Regions from separate parts of the Homo sapiens genome. Here all the other regions are linked to region 2. The links are contacts of gene promoters, found by promoter capture Hi-C in blood cells and fetal thymus (Javierre and others, 2016). All regions are on one chromosome and are shown on one strand. Each heading gives the region's core, a stretch centred on a gene start or on the middle of the fragment in contact. The rest is flanking DNA. Distances are from core to core; before and after follow the strand shown. Region 1 overlaps RER1 (retention in endoplasmic reticulum sorting receptor 1). Region 2 holds the start of SKI (SKI proto-oncogene). Region 3 overlaps MORN1 (MORN repeat containing 1).

What was found. The method cuts DNA at HindIII sites, captures the fragments that hold promoters and counts their contacts. A CHiCAGO score of 5 or more calls a contact.
Region 1: a contact is called between a fragment that was not itself captured here and the fragment with the promoter of SKI in region 2, in 3 of 17 cell types (total CD8 T cells, erythroblasts and M1 macrophages). The highest score is 5.5, in total CD8 T cells.
Region 3: a fragment that was not itself captured here is called in contact with the fragment with the promoter of SKI in region 2 in 3 of 17 cell types (endothelial precursors, erythroblasts and megakaryocytes); the score reaches 6.1 in endothelial precursors.

What each region holds. Positions count from the first base shown.
Region 1 is chr1:2,401,423-2,404,292 of GRCh38, forward strand. RER1 (retention in endoplasmic reticulum sorting receptor 1) reads left to right here. Exons shown (of 7, transcript NM_007033.5): 6 at 785-920; 7 at 1,613-2,870. The coding sequence ends at 1,702. It overlaps PEX10 (peroxisomal biogenesis factor 10), which reads right to left. Exons shown (of 6, transcript NM_002617.4): 6 at 2,552-2,870. Among named protein-coding and RNA genes, the nearest start is that of PEX10, 9.7 kb to the right of the region's middle. The HindIII fragment of the contact is 2,537 bases long and covers 327-2,863 here.
Region 2 is chr1:2,226,649-2,229,985 of GRCh38, forward strand. SKI (SKI proto-oncogene) reads left to right here and starts at 1,671. Exons shown (of 7, transcript NM_003036.4): 1 at 1,671-3,087. The coding sequence starts at 2,119. RefSeq lists an enhancer at 1-412 and a silencer at 732-1,501. The HindIII fragment of the contact is 10,430 bases long and covers 1-3,337 here.
Region 3 is chr1:2,357,459-2,360,499 of GRCh38, forward strand. It overlaps MORN1 (MORN repeat containing 1), which reads right to left. Exons shown (of 14, transcript NM_024848.3): 9 at 1,134-1,257; 10 at 1-140. Among named protein-coding and RNA genes, the nearest start is that of MORN1, 33 kb to the right of the region's middle. The HindIII fragment of the contact is 4,053 bases long and covers 1-3,041 here.

The DNA.
Region 1 (2,870 bases), core at 345-2,844, 170 kb after region 2:
TCTCTCCCATCCCCAGCCTTGTGGCTCCTTTTGGCTGGCAGAGGGACTAGCCTTCTCCTGGAGTCATTTTTGAGAGGGGTTTGAGCCGAGGTGTCCGTGTCTGCACGGGTAGGCAGAGGTGGGTGGTGCAGCCGTCAGAGGGACGGGAGCGTGTGCATCCGTTTGTCTTGTCCCTCATACCCCACTCTGGGAGCACAGGAGGAACCCAAGTCTGTTAGATCAGTAAACTGAAGGAGCCTGCTGAGCTCGTGGGGCTCCACGCCTTGACTTTGCAGCCGCAGATGGAGTGTGGTACAGAAAGATCAGGGGCCCTGGAAGCCACCAGAAGCTTGGACTAGGAAGGGAGAGCTGAGCCTCCAGGGCCGTGGCATCTGTTGGCCATGTGCTGGGACGGGAGGGAGCACTGGTGGCCATGCCACAGTGACAAGGTGAAGGCCCTGGATGGTCCACAAGACACAGCCTGGGTTTCTCTCCAGATCGCAGGCCCAGCCAGCAGGCATGGGGCCCCCAGCCTCAGTACTGATGCTTTATACTTTGTGTAGTTTTAAGAAGAATTGTGTCTTTCAAGGGAGTAAGAGAAGGATGTTTCTGTGGTTAGGGCAGTACATGTCTGTGAGCTACATGCAAAGGGTCCTGCTGCTGCTGTGCCCAGGGTAGACCCCTCCTTTCCACAGGGATGCTTCTGTTTGCGGGGACGGTCGGTGCAGCTGCAAGGCTGGAGGCGGCCGGCAGGTGCCCGGTGCTGGCTGCAGATGCGGCGCTAACCTTCTCTCCCCACTTGAAGGCATGCGGCTACCAAGGGCATCCTTGTGGCTATGGTCTGTACTTTCTTCGACGCTTTCAACGTCCCGGTGTTCTGGCCGATTCTGGTGATGTACTTCATCATGCTCTTCTGTATCACGATGAAGAGGCAAATCAAGGTAAAGCAGAGGCGCTGCCGCCACGCCGGCCGCAATCGCTGTTCTGTTACCCGCAGCATTGGGGGAGCTGTGCTGGGCTGTGGTGGGTGGTGGCAGAGTCTGCCTGGTGTGAATGTGGAGCTAAGTGGCACCGTCTTGTGTGTGACGAGGACACTGCTCCGTTCCCAGCACGGCCGGCTAACTAAACGGGGAGCGCAGCTGTGGGAGCGGGCGGGCTCTTGGTGGAAACTTTGTGGAAGCCGGGTGGGAGAGCCCCGGCGAGTGCAGTGTCCCGGTGGCTCCTCTTAGGGTGCCCAGTGCCCCGCGCCAGCCTGCCCGAGGAGGAGGGTGTTAGGGGGAAGTTAGCCGAGACTGCGGACTGTGCCCTTGACGGTGTGGCCTTCGTGCTGCGGGCCTCACTCTGTGCCCGGGGTGTTGGCTGCAGAGAGGGCCCTGGGCCACCTCACATCCCCCTTGCCCTTCCTCCACGGGAGGCTCACGAAGCACTGGGATTGATGGGGTTTCAAACCTAGGCCTCGTGGGCTGTGGAAGGTCTTGCTGTGTTGATGTGGGCGCAGGAAGCCACTGGGGCTCCGATTCCACTTGTCTGATGTATAGAAAAGATGGGGGACCTTTGGCCGCTCAGATTTGGGGACAGTGTGACTGACTGGAGAGCGGTTGTGCAGTAACTGAGTCTGTGTTTCTCTCCCCAGCACATGATTAAGTACCGGTACATCCCGTTCACACATGGGAAGAGAAGGTACAGAGGCAAGGAGGATGCCGGCAAGGCCTTCGCCAGCTAGAAGCGGGACTGAGGCTGCCTCACGTGTTGCAAGAACAGTTTTGAGCCATTGTTAACAATGCCTTTTTTCTTCACATAAAGTAGTTGATTACGAGGGAGTCAAATTTTCTTTTTAAAAAGGAGCTTCAATGATTTGTAACTGAAATATCAGGTTCTAGAAGAAACTGGCGCTTAAACCAAATCGCATGGATTTCTTTTTCAGTGACGTTCAAGTGTTTCTCACGGATGGAATTCTAGTCAGCTGCAGGCGGGAAGCCAGGCGGGTGGAGCCCATGGGAGCAAGGGCGAGTGGCCGGTCCCCGCTGTGCCAGGTGGGCAGGCAGGAGCAAGGCCTGCGAGGGAGGAACGGGCCGCTCCCCGCCAGCCGCCTTCCCCAGCAGCCGCAGGTGGTGCCAGCCACTCCACAGAGCCCGAGGGATGATCTAGCCTGATTCCTGCGTGTCCGAAAGAACTTAACGTTTTAAAGGTGATTGTCAAGTAACTGTGTGGGGTTCTAATGCCAGTTTCCTAATTCCATCTCACTGGAGATGTTTAAAGTTGGCCTCTATCCTAATGACTCAAAACTTGGTTCTTAACTACCATGATTGCTTTTGAGGGCCCGGAATTATAAATATATATTATATTTTAATTGTTTGAGATTATTTTGACACATTTCTTTGATACGTAGAGTGTTTTGTTTTTAATTTAAATCTGTCCTCATGCAACCCTCCATGAGGGGCAGCGAAGCTGGCAGGGAGCAGACTGGCTTTGTAGGTTCAGCACTCGGCCCCCCACTGCGGGAGAGGCGGAACCCACTTGCATGTCAGCGTTTTTGATTCGAGAAAAGAAATACTCTCAACGTTTTACCAAGTGATTTTACCTCCACCTTTACTAAAGTCTTTACCTAAAACATGGCAGTCGCTGGACACAGGAAAGCCCACCTTTTGTTTGGCCTTTTCGAAAGGTGACCCATATTGCACAGCAGAACATCACAGCTGTGGTCCCAGATGAGACACTGACATGCGAGTGAAGGCCTCTCCTCCTGGGCCCCGGGCTGCGCAGGCTCCTCACTCTGGGCGGTGTTTCCTGTCTCAGAATTGACACGGTGAATGCTTAGTGTCTGGATTTTCTTGTACCAGTGTTTACATATCTGACATCGAGCTCCTCTAAGAGGCCACGTTCAAGCTTGT
Region 2 (3,337 bases), core at 421-2,920:
GGGACTCCGGGCCGGCTCCCCCAGGATAGGAACTGCGCCCAGGAGTGCTGGTTTGAGGCAGGTTCCAGCCTCCACTGGGGAAGTGAGGGGCAGGAGGTCCCAGCTGAAGGTCACTCAGGTTGCAGCGGCGTGGCCCTCTCGCCTCCGCCCAGCACCCAGGCCAGCTTGGGCACCCCCGGCCCGTGGGGCATGTCCCTCCGCCTCAGGCGAGCACAGACCGAGCCCTGCCCCTCCCCAAACACACCATTGCGTCCCTGCGCCCGCAGGCCTCGCTGGAAGCTGCCTCCCCTGGAGACCACCCGGCCGACTGTCCAACTTCGGGGCCCCGGGCTTCCCGCTCCCCGCCCTGCCAAGGCTTGAGTCTCTCCCACTGCGTGGCCAGGCGTGGAGGGCCGGCCGATCCGACCCCGAAAGACGTCTCAGCGCTCCACGGCCCCGGGGCGGAGGTCAGGGGTCTCGCCGGCCCGAACGCCGGGCCCCGCGGGGCCGAAGTCCTGATAAGCCACCTGGCAGGAGTGGCTGGCAGACCGGCTGCGTCTGGGGCACCGGGCGCCGCCCCTCCCAGGCCCGAAGCCCCCGGCCCGCGCAGCAGGGACACTCCGCCAGGGGCCGGCGGGCGGGGCGGGGCCGGCGCGGCCGGGAGCCGCGGACACTCGGCCACCGAGCCACCGGCCACGGCGCAGCGGGGGCCGCCGGGCTGCGCCGCCAGGGTCACGCGACGCGGTGCCCGTCTCGGCGCAGGGTCCCTGGGCGTGGCCGCTGTCCCCCTCGTGTGTGGGACCCCAGGTCACCGTGTGGCGTCCCGGTAGTGTGTGGGACCCCAGAGGCGTCCGGGGCCTCCCCGCTGTGTGGTGTCCCACCCTGGGAGAACCCCGGGTGCGTGGCGTGGCCCCCCGGCCGCCCCCAGCTGGTTTGCGGTCGTGGCGGGGGCCTGTGGGTTTCTGGGCCCCGACGGCGGCGAGACGGGCGCCTTCCCAGCGGCGCAGGAAGCGGCCTCGGCCGGAAGGGGGGCCCCGGGCGCCACCGCCGCCTCCGCCTCCGCCCGCGCCCAGCGGCCCTCGGCGGGCGGGGCCGAGCGGGGCCGAGCGGAGTCGAGCATGGCCGAGCGTAGCCGAGTCCCGGCCGAGCGGAGCCGAGTCATGGCAGGGCGGGTCCGAGCGTGGCCGAGTCCCGGGCGAGCGGAGCCGAGCGCGGCCGAGTCCGGGCGGGGAGCGCGCGTTCCTGGAAGAGCCCGGCTGGGGAGCGGGTCACATTCTTGGCCAGCGCTAGGGCTGAGGCGGACGCACGGCAACAAACAGCGCGGGGGGCGGGGCCGGCGCGGGGCGGAGCGGGCGGCGCGGGGCGGGGCGGCGCGGCGGCGGCGTGAGCTCAGCGCCGGGCGCTCAGTCCGAGCCGGAGCGAGCCGCCGGGAGGATGTGCGCCGAGCGCCCCGAGCCCCGCGCCGCCGCCGCGCTCTGAGGGCCGCGGGCGAGAGGCGCCTCCGCCGCCCCGGAAGCCGGGCGGGCGGGCCGCGGAGCCGGCGGGCGGGCGGGCCGGGGGCCGGCGGCGGGCGCGACGCGGCCGGCCAGCGCCGCCGGGACGAGCCGGGCGGGCGCCTCGCGGTGGGAGGAGCGGGGCGGCGGCGGCGCGCCGCGCGAGGACGGCCCGGCGGGCCCCGCGCCCGCGCCCCCGCTCCTCCCGGGCCCCTCGGCCTCGGCCGCCGCGGCGATTCGCGCCTCGCGGCGCCGGCACCTGCCCGCGCGCCCCCCGCGAGCCCCGGGCCCGCGAGCGTTGGCGTTGGCGTTGGCGGCGCGCGCCGGGGCATGCCCCGCGCCTAGAGCCCGGGGGGCGCGCGGGGGACGCGCGGGGGGCCCGGGCGGCGGCGGGCGCGGCGCGGGGCGCGTGGATGTGGCGCCGGGCCCGGGCGGCGGCGGGCTCCAGCGGCGGGACCCCTTCGCCCCGCCCGCCTTCCCCTTCGCGCCCCCGGGCGAGGCCGCGGCCGTGATCGGCCGTGAGCCGGCGGCGGGGGGCGGCCGGGGTCGGGGCCGCGGGCGCCGCCGGGGCGCGCGGGGCGGCGGCGGGGGCCGGGGGGGCCCGGGCGCGCGGGAGCGGGAGCGGCCGGGGGAGCCGGAGCGCACCATGGAGGCGGCGGCAGGCGGCCGCGGCTGTTTCCAGCCGCACCCGGGGCTGCAGAAGACGCTGGAGCAGTTCCACCTGAGCTCCATGAGCTCGCTGGGCGGCCCGGCCGCTTTCTCGGCGCGCTGGGCGCAGGAGGCCTACAAGAAGGAGAGCGCCAAGGAGGCGGGCGCGGCCGCGGTGCCGGCGCCGGTGCCCGCAGCCACCGAGCCGCCGCCCGTGCTGCACCTGCCCGCCATCCAGCCGCCGCCGCCCGTGCTGCCCGGGCCCTTCTTCATGCCGTCCGACCGCTCCACCGAGCGCTGCGAGACCGTACTGGAAGGCGAGACCATCTCGTGCTTCGTGGTGGGAGGCGAGAAGCGCCTGTGTCTGCCGCAGATTCTCAACTCGGTGCTGCGCGACTTCTCGCTGCAGCAGATCAACGCGGTGTGCGACGAGCTCCACATCTACTGCTCGCGCTGCACGGCCGACCAGCTGGAGATCCTCAAAGTCATGGGCATCCTGCCCTTCTCGGCGCCCTCGTGCGGGCTCATCACCAAGACGGACGCCGAGCGCCTGTGCAACGCGCTGCTCTACGGCGGCGCCTACCCGCCGCCCTGCAAGAAGGAGCTGGCCGCCAGCCTGGCGCTGGGCCTGGAGCTCAGCGAGCGCAGCGTCCGCGTGTACCACGAGTGCTTCGGCAAGTGTAAGGGGCTGCTGGTGCCCGAGCTCTACAGCAGCCCGAGCGCCGCCTGCATCCAGTGCCTGGACTGCCGCCTCATGTACCCGCCGCACAAGTTCGTGGTGCACTCGCACAAGGCCCTGGAGAACCGGACCTGCCACTGGGGCTTCGACTCGGCCAACTGGCGGGCCTACATCCTGCTGAGCCAGGATTACACGGGCAAGGAGGAGCAGGCGCGCCTCGGCCGCTGCCTGGACGACGTGAAGGAGAAATTCGACTATGGCAACAAGTACAAGCGGCGGGTGCCCCGGGTGAGTGGCCCCAGGCCTGGGAGCTGGGGAGGATGCGCTTGGGGTGGGGGCCCCTTCTGGACTACAGGCTCTGGTCTCCGAAGGCTGGGACCTGTGCTTCTGCCGTGCCCCATGTCTCCAGTCTTCGCTTTGTTTTAGGGAAATTCAGAGTGTTCCGACTGGCAGGGCCAGAGAGTTTGGTAGGAAGGCCCTCCTGCCCGTTCCCCAGGACGAGCCTGGAGTGCGGGCTGTGGCGGTGGGGTGGGGGGCC
Region 3 (3,041 bases), core at 124-2,623, 130 kb after region 2:
GGCCATGGAGGGCACCCAAATGCAGCTCCAGGTCTCCCCTGGGCAGGGGCACGTCGGCTTCTGCCCCTCCCTTGGCAGCTCTGGGCCCCGGCACCCCAGCTGCGGGGCTGGACACAGGATAAGGGATGCATTCGAACCCACTGCAAAGGAATGGGGGCAGCTTGGCTCTACTCACCCCACACCAAACTAGGGTGCAGGCAGACAGCGTGGCCCACGCCCTGGACCCTGGGACTTGCCTACACTGAGTCCAGGGAGCGCTACTCAGCCTCTCTGGGAGGTCTCCTGCTGGGATGGGGCCAGTTGAGGCCCAGAGAGAAAAAAGACTCGCCAGGGAGAAGACAGCAGGTCTTGGCTTGAAGGAAGAGCTGCCTGCCGCCCCCATTATTATTTATGACAACTCCAGCAGCGTCACCTCTCGGGTGCGTTCTGACTTCACAGTGGGTCCAAGTTTACCCCAAATGTCAGACAGTCCTTAACTCAGGAGAAGGGCCGGTGGGAAAAGGGAGTGTGAGAGCTGTGGCGTCACACTCAGGTCTGGTCGCCTGGGGCACTGCTAAGTTCTGACTGTGAATGGTAAAATGCATGGATTTTCATGTTGCGGGGCTTAGAGTGAGGCCTCTTCCTGGAGTCCTGCAGCTCAGGCCTCTGTTTGCGTGTGGGTTTGTGCACACACTGGCCTGGTCCAGCGTGTTCCTGGGAGGCCTGGTGATGTGTGCGTGGGGAGTGGCGCCCAACTAGGCCTGGCTGGTAAGGGCCACTCCCCTCCTGGCTGCACCAAGAGAGGCCTGAGCATCTCTGCAGCCGACCCTCCTCCCAGGAGCACCCGAGGGCCGGAGTCCTGATGTCTCCACTCCAGACACGGACCCAGGCCCAGAGGCTTGGGGGCCGAGCGCTGGGGGAGACTAGGGGCTCTGACCAGGGGCTCGCGGTCTCAGAAGGCAAGAGGGGCCACAGCAGAGGGTCAGGTACTGAAATTCAAGGGAGCTGTTTCCTTAGAACAGACATCGAATATTTCATTTGTCATAACCAGGACTTAGCCCAGGTCTCTAGGGAAAAAAGGACAAGGAATTAATGTGACCTAAATGAACTCAAAACAAACTCAGAACTAACTCATTGGTGTCACACGTACTCACAATGGGGTCTGGATGAGTGTCTCTTGGTTGTCTCTGTCCACTTTGAAAAAGTTGACCTCAGAGTAGGCTGACAGCTGCACGTATCTGACGCCCGCTGAGATCTGCAGGACCCGGCCGCTCTCGCCTTCCAGGAGAGAGGAGCAGGCAGTGAACACTCACAGGCACCCAGAAGCGGGGTGCGCGGGCCCGGGGCAGGCTTCTGGGACGCTGTGTTTATAACTCAGCGGGGCCACATTTGCCAGTGGCTGTGACCCTGGTGGGCTGAGGACCCCGGCTTGCCCTCCGTGGGCTCTCTGCTCCTCTCCCATGCCCTGCAGAAGTTTCCCAGCCCTGGGATCTCTGGTGCTGGCCACACTCACCCCAATACCCCTGTACCCCTGTACCCCTTGCCTCAGGTCCTGGATCCTGAATCTCCAGCTCTAGGCCTCGGGGACCCCTGGCTCCACCCCTGCCCTAGCCTGGGGCTGGCACACTATGGGAAGGCATCTCCTTGCTGACCAGCCTCAGGGCTTCACCTCAGGCACACCCAGGCCTTGGGCTGGTCAGGGGCGTGGGGTGGCACTGGCACTCACAAGCTCCCGGGGCCTCCATGGTGGTCCTCATCACCCTGGCAGATAGCAGGCTCTCCGTGCCCATCTCCCACCTTGACCCGGGGGGATGGGCTCCCCCCTCCACTAAGGTACCCAGCACAGGGCCTGGCACACAGCTGGTGCCCACCAAGTGTCTGCTGAGTCAGCTGCTCCATCCTGCACCCCATTGCTCCTGGGAACCTTAGGCTGCAGGTGGCCCCCAGAGGACTGTGCCCAAGGAGTGGACACCACTGTCCCTCTGAGTTGCTGAGTGCAGATGCTCTGGGCCCCGCTGGGCAGGTGGAGGTGGCGGAGCTGGGTGTTCAGCCACACCCAGAAGACCCCACGTGGGAGTGCTGGATAGCAGGGAGGAGTGGCTTGGGCACCGTGGGTGGAGGCAAGATGGCTGTGCCGAGAGGAGCAAAGAGGAAGAGGAAGGAGGCCAGATGTGGTGGCTCACCCCTGTCATCCCAGCACTTTGGGAGGCCGAGGCGGGTGGATCTCCTGAGGTCAGGAGTTTGAGACCAGCCTGGCCAACATGGCGAAACCTGTCTCTACTAAAAATACAAAAAGTAGTCAAGTGTGGTGGCAGCACCTGCAATCATCCCAGCTCCTTGGAGGTTGAGGCAGGAGAATCGCTTGAACCCAGGAGGCGCAGGCTGCAGTGAGCCAGGATCATGCCACTGCACTCCAGCCAGGGCGACAGAGAGAGACTCCGTCTCAAAAAAAAAAAAAGGGAAACAAAAGAAGAAGAGGAAGGAGACCAGTCCGGTGCCCCAGAGTGGATGCCGAGCTTTGGGACGGGCTCTCAAGTGGGAAATGACTGGACTTCAGCAAACATGGGCCATTCGGACAAAGCAGGGCCCAGGCAGGCTCCCACTTGGGGTGGCCGTGGAGGGGTCGCCTCAGAGCCTGGGGCTACCCCCAATCATCACGGATGATGTATCACGCCCTGCACCCCTGGCACTAGGCACAGGTCCAGGGCCTGGTCATGCGGACTCTGAGGTCAAGGTCCTATGGAGGACAGGTTAACAGGAACCCAGCCTCTCATCTTACTAAGATCTGGCAAAGGAGACACGATTGGGAAAGCAAAGATGTCAAATGTAAAAACACTAGCGTAGCCTGCTGGACATCTGTATGGGGATGGAGTAACTGGGATCGATTGACACCCCTGGTTCCAACAACCAAGAAAGCCGACAAAGTGCAATGAAATTGATATCAGGATCCCGGACACCAGGCAACTCAGGACAGATCCTTGAAAGAAGGAAACAAACGGCGTGGACTCTATAATTGCCCTGGCTGCTGCCTTAAAAGAACGTGCAGGATGAGCTGCAGAGAG